2 separate regions of the Homo sapiens genome follow, and region 1 is linked to region 2. The links are contacts of gene promoters, found by promoter capture Hi-C in human tissues and cell types (Jung and others, 2019). All regions are on one chromosome and are shown on one strand. Each heading gives the region's core, a stretch centred on a gene start or on the middle of the fragment in contact. The rest is flanking DNA. Distances are from core to core; before and after follow the strand shown. Region 1 overlaps RBM47 (RNA binding motif protein 47). Region 2 holds the start of CHRNA9 (cholinergic receptor nicotinic alpha 9 subunit).

Region 1 (6,572 bases), core at 150-2,649, 150 kb after region 2:
TACCTTCCTTCCTTCTCTATCTACCAGATTCTTATTTTCCTTTGTAACTCTCTTCTAGAATCACCTTCCTCCAAAAGGATTTTTTTTATCCAGGTATCTATCTTTCTCAACACAACTTTACTCACTGCCACACCACTTCAGCATTTCTTCTTTTCTAGATATTTGGCAATTGTGTATTTGTCATTTGGGATCAAATTTGATTCCTGTTTCATCACAACATTGCCTAAACAGCAATGCTTCTGATTCTACATTTGAAAATTAAAGCTTATACACAAAGTTTAAGATTGTCTCTTTTTTTTTGTTTGTTTTCTTTTTCTTTTTTGTTTTTGTTAAGACTGTCTCTTGTAAAAAATGTTTGCACAGTTGTCATATGTTTGCATGACAAGCTGATCATGGTTCCTTACAAAGTATACCCAAGGTATTTGCTCTCAACCTTTTCTCACCACCCAGTGCACACACACAGAAATTCACTAACATGGGTGCTCAATAATTGTTATTGACAAGAATTCCAAACAGTTGGTCAAATGACTTTTTACTTACAACATGGAGCCATAAGTCATAAGATAATTTAATTTATGAAGAATCAATATGAAATAAAGACTTAAAGCTCAATCTTGTTACCTGTTTGGTGAACAACTCTGGAAAGTCAGGATAAAGGAAAGCCAAGTCGACAGCTGCTTTATCTAAGCAGTAAGAATATGCAGATGGGACCCTCTTCTGTTCTCCTACCATGTTTGTTCCAGGATTCCAATTTGAAATCTGTATGTGCCCCTTGACACCTCAATGCTTTGTCAAGCACCTCATTTCTCTGGCTTTAGTTTTATAGACAAAGAAACCAAATACATGGTGATGGAGCAGCTTATCACAGTATGTTTTTAGAAACACCAATGCTAAAATTACCAGTCCCCAAGTGTCAGGTGAAATTACTATAAGAATTAAGTGAGAATTACTTTGATCTAAAGTATTAATGAAAATGGTAGTGTCAGTCATGATTCTGGATAATTACTCAAATAGACAATTTTAAAAATTGGGACAACACATTAATATGAGAATATACTGTTATAAAGAGAAAATAGGCCGGGTAGGGTGGCTCACTCATGTAATCCTAGCATTTTGGGAGGCTGAGGTGGGCGGATTGCTTGAGTCCAGGAGTTTGAGACCAGCCTGGGCAACATGGCAAAAGGCCATCTGTGTAAAAAAAAAAAAAAAAATACAAACATTAGCTAGGCATGGTGGCATGCGCCTGTAGTCCCAACTACTTGGGGGTGTGAGGTGGGAGAACTGCTTGAGCCCGGAAGCTCCAACTGTAGTGAGCCATATTTGGACCACTGCATTCTAGCTTGGACAACAGAGCAAAACCCTGTTTCAAAAAAAAAAAAAAAAAAAAAAAAAAAAGAGCTTAGTGTGAAGAGTTTAGAAACTAAATACAGTAGCTAAGGAAGAAACTGATTATTTATCTGAATTTCAAATTGAACTAAACATTGGTCCCAATCACTCTTCCTTTTTCCAAGAACTGAGCATTAAATGGAATTTTAAAACATTTATTAAAACAAAATCAAAGACAAACTACAATTAGGAGTGTGTCATTAAAGAGCCAATTTCCTTAATATGCCAGAGTGCTTCCGTATCAACAAAAAAATACAACACAATACATACGAGCAAAGATATCAGCAGGCAGTTTGCAGAAAAACAAGATTCTATGATGAATAAACATGAAAATAGTTCAACTCTATTCAAATCAAACTTTGTCTGATTAAAATAGATAGAAATCGAAACAGTGAGTCCTACTATATCAGCAAAAATTTTTAAATTTGGGCTGGGTGTGGTGGCTCATGCCTGTAATCCCAGTACTTTAGGAGGCCAAAGTGGGTGATGACTTGAGGTCAGGAGTTCGAGACCAGACTGGTCAATATGGTGAAACCCCATCACAGATTTAAATGGAAGTTGTAAAATCTTACCCCCAGTAGAGGATCTTTAGAGGAAATGGGGTGAGGGTTGGGTAGAGGGCACATGGATTGAGCAACCTTGACTGTGATTCCCATAAATTTAGAAGTTCAGGCAGGAGGACTTCCCCCATGTAACTATGATTCAACAGAGCACACATCCTGTTTAATAACAAAGGCATTTATGCAACATTCATTCTATGTCTCTGGGTAATTTATATGTTGCTTGATCTTGGTAATGTGCAAACATTTTTAGCCAGTTCTTAACTGTCAGGTGATCTCTGATTGTTGCTGTTTTCTATAGTTGTTGTCTAGACACTCACAAGGATTCAGGTTTATTTTGGATCCTAAAGTCAAGGCCAGTATTTCTTTAAGACTTACTTAAACTGGAAGAGTCCTAAGATTTCAGTAGCCACAAAAAATTATTCTCTGTGCTCCCCCAAGAGGGACAGACACAATGAGCAACCTTAGGATGGTCAAGGGTCATCTGTTAGCTCTTTTAGACTCAGTGGAGCCTTCATGGGGATTGGCAGATGGAACCGAAAGCAACAAAAAAGACCCCAAAGGAATTGGCATCTTGGGAACTCAGATTTCCTCAAGGACTCCTCCATCTGATGATGTTGGTAATTTCAGCTCTACATCATCATTTCTTTTCTTTTCTTTTTTTAAAGATGGAGTCTCACTCGGTCGCCCAGGCTGGAGTGCAGTGGCGCGATCTCGGCTCACTGCAAACTCCACCTCCCAGGTTCAAGTGATTTTCCTGCCTCCTGAGTAGCTGGGTCTACAGGTGTGCACAACCATGCCCAGCTAATTTTTGTATTTTTTAGTAGAGACAGGGTTTCACCTGGTTAGTCAGGCTGGTCTTGAACTCCTGACCTCAAGTGATCCACCCACCTTGGCCTCCCAAATTGTTGGGATAACAGGCGTCAGCCCCCATGCTTGGCCTCATCATTTCTTTTTTTATCAAAAACCAGACAGTCAACTAGGCACCCCTCTGTGCTCACCTTTCACGTCCTGGCATAACACTTCGTAAGCATAGCTACACAAAGAATAAGAATGGCAAGCCCCAAGTATGAAGAGATAAATCAAATTTAATTGTTATTAATATATTATTGATTATTCACACTAAATTTAGTCTTCCAAAAAAATAAATCTACTTGGATAAAATTCATGTTGATGGATAGACCAAAGAAAGCTGGTTATCAATTTATATGCTAATGAATTTTTCTTACTTTTCCCCTATGTATAGCCTAGTATTTTGTAATTTCTCTGCACCTACAGGGCCAGAGGAGGGAAAAAAACGGAACGCACATCCTTTCTGTTCTTTAGTGAAGCTTTTGATGAAAGGGATTAATAAGAGTTAGGGGTGAGGGAAAGAAAGAAAGAGAGAGAGAGGCTGGGCACGGTGGCTCACACCTGTAATCCCAGCACTCTGGGAGGCCAAGGCAGGTGGATCACCTGAGATCAGGAGTTCAAGACCAGCCTGGCCAACATGGTGAAACCCAGCCTCTACTACAAAATTAGCCAGTGTAGTGGTGCGCACCTGTAATCGCCACTACTCAGGAGGCTGAGGCACAAGAATCACTTGAACCCGGGAGGCAGAGGCTGCAGTGAGCAGAGGTTGCAGTGAGCCGAGATTGTACAACTGCACTCCAGCCTAGGTGACAGAGCGAGACTCTGTCTCAAAAGAAAAAAAAAAGGGTGGGGGGGAAGGGGGAGAACTTGAGACGCTATAAAATGAAAATTAGAACTTTTCAGTGCGCACCATTTTCATAATTTATGGTACTTCCACCCCAAGCATGCCTCAAATTTGTTTAGGAAAATATTTTCTTCTCATACCTTCATTTGTTCTCATATCATCATTGTAATATGGGTGGATGATCAAATAAGCAAGGCCGGCAATTGGTCTGAGAAAAGAGCTCATTTGGAAATAACATCCTGAGCTTTGCAACCGCAAGTGAGAAGTGTATCTCAGCACCTGGTAGCAAATGCAGGTGAGGTCCACCCTGGTAGTACATACAGGAGAGTTCATAGATGGTTGGCAAAGAGGTACAAACTAATGGAAACACAACAACAAGCTCTGTAGCTACTTTACATGGAGTTGACTCAGCAAAGGCCCATCTGACCTAACAACAACAACCAGATTAGAATAGTTAATCTTTATTGAACAGTTGTTACCACCAGTTCTGGGTGCTTCACATATGCTATTTCATTTAATCCTCACGACAATCCTATGAGGTACTAATTATCTTTCTGCTATTTTGCAGATGTGGAGACTGAGGCTTACAAAGATTAAATAAGTGTTCAAAGTCTCACAACTATTAGGTGGCAGATGTAGAACTCATATCCAGGTTCCCAAACCCCAGAGCCCAAGTTTTTGCCCCAGAATCACAATGCTATATGGACTGCACCATAATGAAACAGCTGTGTCAACTGTACTCTGTATGCCCCCCTCATGTATTCAGTTGCCCTGTAACTCTGTCCCCAAAGGAGAAAGTTTGCATGCCCTGACTGTTTCAGCATTGGTCACTCATACTCACAAACTGTCCTGTAAAATGGAGCTTGGGGGAATGGAGATAACAGTTAAAATACAGTAAACAATCTAAGCTTTCAGTTTAAGAAGCCAGAAAAAAGAAGGGCAAAATAAATCTGAAACAGATTAAGGAAGGAAATAATAATGATTTAGGTGGGAATAAAGCAAATACGGACTATAAAAACAAAATAAAAGTTAATAAAACCAAAAGTTGGTTCTTTGAAAAGAGCAACAACATTGACAAACCACTAGCTAGAATGACAAAGAAATGAAAAGACTCAACTTACTAAACTCAGGGATAAGAGAAGTGACAACACTACTGACCTTCTAGAAATAAAAAGGATAGCAAAGAAATACTATGAACAATTATATGCCAGCAAATTAGATAACCTACATGTAGAGGAGAAATTCCTAGAAAGATGCAAAGGGCCAAAATAGACTCAAGAAGAAATAGAATATCTGAATAGACTTATAAGTAAATACACTGAATTTGTAACATAAAAATTTTCCACAAAGAAAAGCCCAAGAACAGATGACTTCTCTGGAGGATTCTATCAAATGTTTTAAAGTCTAATTACCACCAATCCTTCACAAATTCTTCCAAAAAACAGAAGGGACTAGAACACTTCCCACTGAGGCCAGTATTACATGCATAGAAAATACAGACAAAGTTATCAGAAAATGACAAATCAATATGTCTTATGCATATGGACTTTTTAAAAATACACAACTAAATACTAATAAACTGAATTCAGCAACATGACCAAGTCTGATTTAACCCAGAAATGCAAGATAGCTTAACAGATGAAAATCAATCAGTGCAATACACCATATCAACAAAAGACAAAAACTATACACAGTAATCTGAATAGCTGCCAGAAAAGCATTTGATACAATGCACCAACCCTTCATAACTAAAACACAACATATTAAAGCAGAAGGGAACTTCTTCAATCTGATAAATAACATCTACAAAAAACCCATGACTAATACACTTAATGTGAAAAAGACTGAATGCTCTCCCCATGAAGAACAGCAACAAGGATTTGCACTCTCTCAACTTCTATATGCAACATTGTACTTGTTTCTAGCCAGGATAAATAGAAAAAAAGGAAAAAGAAAAAAAAAGAAAGAAAGGGGATCCATATGGGAAAGGAAGAAATAAAACTCTGTTCATAGATGACGTAGTCAATTACATGTAAAAAACCTAAGGAATCCATTAAAAAATTATTAGAACTAATAATCAAGTTCAACAAGGTTGCAGGACATAAAAGCAATATAGAAAAATCAATTATAAATTTCTATCTACTAGCAATGAACAAACTAAAATATAAAATTAACAAAGCAATTTCATCTACAATAGCATCAAAAATAATACAAGTGTTAAAACTACAAAACATTGTTCAAAGAAATCAAAGATCTAGGCCATCTATTAAAAATACAAAAATTAGCCGGGCGTGGTGGCGCCTGGCCGAGACATAAGAATCACTTGAACCCGGGAGGCGGAGGTTGCAGTGAGGAGAGATCGCGCCACTGCACTCCAGCCTGACAAGTGAGACTCTGTCTCAAAAAAAAAAGAGAGAAAAAAAATCTAAATAAATGGAAAGACACTGCTTGTTCATGAATAGAAGACTGAACGCTGCTAAAATGACAATACTCCTCGATCTGATCTACAGAGTCAACACAATATTCCCATCAAAATCTCAGCTAGTTTCTGGGAAAAAAAATTGATAAATGGATACTAAAATTCCTACAGAAATTCAAGGGGCCCAGAATAGCCAAAACAAACTTGAAAAAGAAGAACAAAGCTCAAGGACTCACCCTTCCAGGTTTCAAAATTTACTACAAAGCTACAGTAAACGAGACAGTGTATAGGGTGCAGAAATCTTAGGGGAAAACCATAAGGTGCGGGGAGGGTGGGCAGCGTGGTACTGGCATAAGGATGGCCATAGGACAATAGATTCGAAATGAGAGTTCAGGGAAAAAACCCAAAACATGTATCTGTGGTCAATCGATTCCGGACAAGGGTGCCAAGACTATTTGATGGGAATAGTCTTTTGAAGAAATTATGCTTTAATAACTGGATACGCACAATG
Region 2 (6,566 bases), core at 1,152-3,651:
AAGAGCCCAGCCTCCTGGGGAGGTTGAGGGTCTCTGGCATGGTTCTTGGTGGAGAGTCAGCATCCTTTACCCACCTTCCTGTGGGGCAGATCGAAGTCCCACCTGCCCTTGGCTGAAAGGAAGTGCATTCCCAAGCCTCCTAAAGGCACACTTGACCTTGATTTCCTCTGAGCTTCCTCACCAGATGAACTGGTGTTGTGTAAGGAGCACTGTATTGAGTCAGGACGATGGGTTATGTCCTTGCGAAGGCTTCTGACCTCTCTAGTCCTCAGTTTCTTTATCTGTAACATGAGTGACCTTAGCTAGATGGTCCTCAAAGAGCTCTTTACAGGTTAGAAGTGCTCTGATCCTGTACTTAATGAAATGGAGAAAATATTCATGCCATATTCATTTGCAGGGAAAAAATCCTTTGCAAAACATGATGTTTGACTCTTGTAATTTTTGTTTTAAAAAACACATGTAGCAGAATGAAGGTATTTGTTCTTCCCATCCCCACTCTGCTGCTGGGCAGAGGATATTTTAGCCATAGAATTCACTAGGATTCTTTGTCAGACAGGACTCTATTCTAAGGAATGGGAGCACTGCCATCATCCTCCTGGAATGGAGTCAGGGATGCCCCCCAGGACACTGGACCCCAATGGGCAAAGGTTCTCAGCAGCTTCAACCTAAAAGAGGCCCCTGAGGGGAGAAGGGACCCTGAAGGGAGGGGAGTGGTATAGGAAGGGAAGGGACACCATTCAAGGTAGGCCCTGTGTCAACTACAATTCAACCCTGTGAGTGCTGTAAGGAATCCAAGACATATGAGGTAAAGATCCTCTACACACAAGGAAGTCACCACCCAGCTGGCATCAAAAGCCATATTGATGAAAGACAACGAGAAGGAAGAGATGCATTGTTAGTGTTGCAGGGAGCACAGTGGATTGGGGCAGGTGGCCTGGATCCTGTCTCTGGCCGATCACTGCTGGAGGGAAGCCACTCTGCATCCCTGGGCCTCAGTTTCCTCATATAGAAGTGAGGCATTAAACTCAATTTCAAAATTACCTTCTGCCTCTGAGATTCTGGAGCGGATGGTTTGCTGAAGGAGGACTGAGCGTGGGCACCCGGAATTGTGTCATTTGATGAATGAGTCAGACTAGGGGCGTCAGAAAAATAATGTCTTCACAATCAACACAATGGGATAGGCAATTAAGAAACACTTTGCCGATGGCTTGAGTGTCTGTTCCACTCAGAGGATACATTCCCGAAGAGGGATGGGGTGACTCATCAGGCGGCTGTAACCTGATGAAACAGAGCTATCCAATTTCCTCGCTCCAATTCCAGGCAACCAAATTATCTTAATATGGTTTTCCAAAGCAGTTTCCCCAGGCAAGAGGAGAGACAGACATGAGTTTCCAGACTAAGCAGCAATTGAAAATTGACATTTTTTTATAGGAGTAAAATTATATCACATATGAGAAATGACTGAAACTTTATATGAAGTAGCATTCAAATGCAAAGGGTGTCATCATTAGCAATATCACCATTGGTTATTATTCTCATGCTGATTTGGTCAGCCTTTGAACCAGTTTTTCTTTTTTTTTTTCGAGCTGGTAAATCCTGGGTGACTTGGTGAGTATAGAAATTCTGGGTATGCAAAGCTGATCAAAGATGATAATTACTGATATTTAGAAAGTGCTTTCACATACAGTTATCTCAGTAGCTCTAGAGAGAGAAAATATTATTTTCCCCAGTCTGTAGTTCTGGAAGGCTCAGAGAGGTTAGGTGACTTTTACAGAATAATAGAGCTCGTCAGGGTTTGGCTGGCAGTCAAACCCAGGTGGTCAAGTCCAAATCCAACTCACAGTGTTGCTGCTTCTTAAGCGAGTGATTATCCGCCCATCCAGCACACCCCCTCACATATATACTCACAAACATTTACTATGCAAGATCCATGCCCAGTGGGACAGCTGCAGGAGGGATCAGAAGCTGAGGCAGAGAAAAAACCAAAATGCCAATATATTCTGGAGATCATAGAACCGTGTCTCTTTCCCTCTTCAAATGCTGCTAAAAGCACGTAGAGTCTTTCTGGACAGCCGTCCCATGGCTCAGTCTTTTAGGCTTCCCTTAGTCCCTGGACTCAGGCTGACTCTGCTCATGGTGGGTGTAGAAATCTCCCATTCTGCTTAGATGGAGTCTCTGGGGTGTCAGGCATACCCCTGTTGCCTGCATCTACCTCCTTTTCTGTCTGGTTGTTTCTGCTGAGGGTGGCTAGGGACCCTCAACTGAGATGGCCCCCCACAACAGCACTGTTGGACCTAACACACCCTGGGTTCCCGGCTTCTCAGCCACTGGAGCTGCCAGTCTCAAATTACCGGAGGGGAGGGAGGGCAGGCCTGGATCTCAGGATCTCGGTCCTGCATGCAATGCAAGCCTGAGCTCTCCCGCCATAAGGCTGCAGCGGTGTGGGCTCCTTGTGCCCAGATCCTTTGTATTCATAGGGGGAAGTGGAAGACCACGCTGCCTGACTGAGACTTTATTATAGAGGCTCAGGAAAAAGATGAACTGGTCCCATTCCTGCATCTCCTTTTGCTGGATCTACTTTGCTGCTTCCAGACTGAGAGGTGAGAGGCTGGTGACACGTAACCTATCTTGTCTCATCTGGGGCTATTGCTTTGGTGGGAGGTGGGGCAGGACAGGGAAGACAAAACAGATGATTCAACCGCATGGAAGTGTTCTGTGCTTCCTACTGACTCTGATCTTGGTAGGGCATGCCAGAAAAACAACTCATCCATCCACCCAAAGCTTGTCCCTCGCCAGTGTTGGGCCATCCCCCATTTTAGACCTCAGTCTTGTGTTGTTTGTCTTGAAATACACACAACACTCTGAATGTTAATCCAGATCCCTCTTGTTGAGTAGCTGCAGAGACGGCAGATGGAAAATATGCTCAGAAGTTGTTTAATGACCTTTTTGAAGATTATTCTAATGCTCTTCGTCCAGTGGAAGATACAGATAAAGTCCTGAATGTGACCCTGCAGATTACGCTCTCTCAGATTAAGGATATGGTGAGTAACACATGGTGCTGACTCTGTGGAATGATTCTTAGAGGATAAACAACCATGCTTTCTGAAGAGAATGTCTTAACTGGGAATTTGAGAGGGAATGATAGCTCCTTAAGCAAGCTGGTGGGAGAAGAGAATGTCGGGAAAAGGAAGCTTTCTACAAAACTAATTAATTTCAAGAAACGTTACCTAATCCTGGTCATTAACTGTAACAGTCTTAGATAATCTAAAGAAAGATGGGGTTACATACTGTATGCAGCCATTTATATAAAATGTCCAAAAGAGGTAAATCCGTAGAGACAGAAAACGGCATAGAGGTTGCCGGGGTCTGTGGGGAGGACGGGGAAAACGGCCAGTGAGTTCTTAATGATTACGGCGTTTCTTTGCGGGGGGAAGAAATGATCTTGAATTAGGCAGTGGTGATGGTTGCACAACGTTGTGAATATATTGGAAGCCGGTGCATTGTTCCCTTCGAAAATGATTAAAATGGTGAGTTTTAATGTGAATTTGATCTTAATTTTTTTTTTGAGACGGAGTCTTGCTGTCACCCAGGCTGGAGTGCAGTGGCATGATCTCCGCTCACTGTAAGCTCTGCCTCCTGGGTTCACACCATTCTCCTGCCTCAGCCTCCTGAGTAGCTGAGACTACAGGCACCCGCCACCACACCCGGCTAATTTTTTTTTTGTATTTTTAGTAGAGACAGGGTTTTACCGTGTTAGTCAGGATGGTCTCAATCTCCTGACCTCATGATTCGCCCGCCTCGGCCTCCCAAAGTGCTGGGATTACAGGCATGAGCCACCGCGCCCGGCCAATCTCAATTTTTTAAAAAAGGTAGTGTTTTAAGATGGCATAGCTTATTAGTGCTTATCTATGTTTAATTACACAATGTTATGAAACTTGAAAGATTTTCCTTCTGCACATTGTTATTTCCTGACTTTTGCTTTCAAGTACATCATTCATTGATCAATTTTCAGGAAATATAGGCAGTTGATCTATGCAAAGATATCAATACTAAAATATTTGTCCACTTTACATTCTGAACACTAAATCTAGGAGGAAAAAAAATATGATCTTGGCAGTCAATCAAGGGGATAGAATAAATAAAGAATAAAGCTCTCACTTTACTTATTGAAATTTGATGAGTGTTTGTGAAATTCCTATTGTGAAGAACAAGTGTCCTATCAGTGGAAAACATTTCAAGTGTCTGCTAGGTAAAGCGACATCTGGATTCATTGTGTAGGATGAAAGAAACCAAATTCTGACTGCTTATTTGTGGATCCGCCAAATCTGGCACGATGCCTATCTCACGTGGGACCGAGATCAGTACGATGGCCTAGACTCCATCAGGATCCCCAGTGACCTCGTGTGGAGGCCAGACATCGTCTTATATAACAAGTAAGTGCAGCTCAGAACTGAGGCTTTTCAGGCATGAACGTGTTGATTTCATAGAATTTAAACATAATGAAAAAGGAATGTTTAAAACATGCATGAAATTAAATATTAATCCATGTTCCTAGGACTTACTGAAATAAGAGACATAGAATCTTAGATCAGGAAATAATATGTCATAAAAGCTTAGAGCTGGAAAGAAACCATCCATCTACATGCCCCTTTTTCAGGTGGGAAAGTGGAGGCTGCATTAGTTTGCTAGGGCTAACTTTGCCATAACAGAGTAGCACAGATTAGATGACTTAACAAAAATGTGTTATCTCACAGTTCTGGAGTTGAGATGCCTGAGATGAAGGGGTTGACAGCGTGGTTTCCTCTGAGGGCTGTGAGGGAGGATCTGTACCAGGCCTCTCTTCTAGCTAATGGTGGTTTGCTGGCAGTCTTTGGTGTTCTTGGCATTATAGAAGCGTCACTCTGAGCTCTGCCTTCATCTTCACATGGCATTCTCCTGTGTGTTCCCTGTGTCCAAATTTCCCCTTTCTATAAGGACACCAGCCATATTGGATTAGATGTCCACCCTACTCCAGCGTGACTTCATCTTAACCTAACTAATTACATCTTCATGATACTATTCTCAAATCAAGTCACATTCTGAGTGTTGGGGGCTAAGACTTCAATATGTGAATTTTTCAGGGACACAATTCAACTCTTAACAGTGACACTCACCATCCAAGATCATGTATCAATAATTAATTAAACCGGAATGGGCCATCTAGAAACTGACCTGTGGATTTGGGGCTTTGTGTGGAGTGGAGGATGAACCAGTTTACGGGATACAAAGTGACGTTTTCCCGGTCTCAGAGCAAGGGGCATTGTATAACGGGTAGGTAAAGTTTATGTTTCGCAAGCTGTAAGGTGCATATGAATCGCCCAGGGAGTTTGTTAAAATACAGATTGTGATTCCATGGGTGTGGGGCGGGCCTGTGATTCTGCATTTCTACAAGCTCCGGAAGACGTGGGCACTGTGGGTCCATGGGCTGCATTTTGAGAAAAATACCAGATCTCTGGTCACAGTTCAAGCTCAGTGGCCCCGCCTGTTGTTGAAAGAGCTTCTCTCTGTTTTTATTCTGGAACCCAAGTTTCTGTGGAGTGGGAAGAGTTCCTCTGTGGCTCAGACCTATGTGAATGAGGGGCAGCTCAGGGGGCTCCCCTGGGTGGAGGCTTCCAGTGGGCATGGATTTCCTTTAAGGAAGCAGCACGGGTGGGTTGCAGCCTGGATTTTAGTCTCACTCCTTACTCAGAGAGCTCATCTAAGGGTCATGAGCTCTGGAATCATAGCCCTGTTTTTCTGTCCATTCCCAACTCTGAGTGGCCAGAGGAATCATCTGTATTCCTTCCCAAGGAATATAACAGGAAGATAACATTCAAATACTGGGCTTTATTCCTCCAGTTTACCCTCCCTCCCCGTGCTCGCTCTCTCTGTCTCTGTCTCTGTCTCTCTCTCTCTCTGTCTCTCTCTCTCCCTCTCTCTCTCACACACACACACACACAGAGCAAGAAAACAAACCACATTGTCCATTACCACACTCTCGTCTGCAGAGTGCAGGAGAGTAATATCTGATAATTTCATTGACACAGGCAGGGCGTGAGGACTAACCCCTGTAATCCCAGCACTTTGGGAGGCCAAGGCAGGTGGATCGCCTGAGGTCAGGAGTTCGAGAACAGCCTTGCTAACATGGTGAAATCCGGTCTTTATTAAAAATACAAAAAATCAGCTGGGTGTGGTGGCGGGCGCCTGTAATCCCAGCTACTTGGGAGGCTGAGGCAGGAAACTCACTTAAACCCGGGAGGCAGGGGTTGCAGTGAGCCAAGATTGCACCACTGCACTCCAGCCTGGGCGACAAGAGCGAGACTCCATCTCAAAAAAAAAAAAAAAAAAAAAAGAAAGAAAAAAGAAAAAGAAAGATAATTTCATTGACACAGATGATCTCTTACAGAATTCTGTAAGTTCTTTTTTTTTTAATTTTAAGACAGGGTCTGGGGGCCAGGCATGGTGGCTCACGCCTGTAATCCCAGCACCTTGGGAGGCCGAGGGGGGCGGATCATGAGGTCAGGAGATCGAGACCATCCTGGCTAACA

Evidence for each region. The method cuts DNA at HindIII sites, captures the fragments that hold promoters and counts their contacts. A contact is called where the count stands out against the background at its distance.
Region 1: a contact is called between a fragment that was not itself captured here and the fragment with the promoter of CHRNA9 in region 2, in 1 of the 25 tissues and cell types used here (IMR-90 fibroblasts).

What each region holds. Positions count from the first base shown.
Region 1 is chr4:40,484,703-40,491,274 of GRCh38, forward strand. All of the region lies in intron 2 of RBM47 (RNA binding motif protein 47), which reads right to left. Among named protein-coding and RNA genes, the nearest start is that of MIR4802, 14 kb to the right of the region's middle. The HindIII fragment of the contact is 5,027 bases long and covers 1-3,913 here.
Region 2 is chr4:40,332,932-40,339,497 of GRCh38, forward strand. It overlaps CHRNA9 (cholinergic receptor nicotinic alpha 9 subunit), which reads left to right and starts at 2,402. Exons shown (of 5, transcript NM_017581.4): 1 at 2,402-2,600; 2 at 2,896-3,041; 3 at 4,279-4,433. The coding sequence starts at 2,537. The HindIII fragment of the contact is 10,503 bases long and covers 1-2,986 here.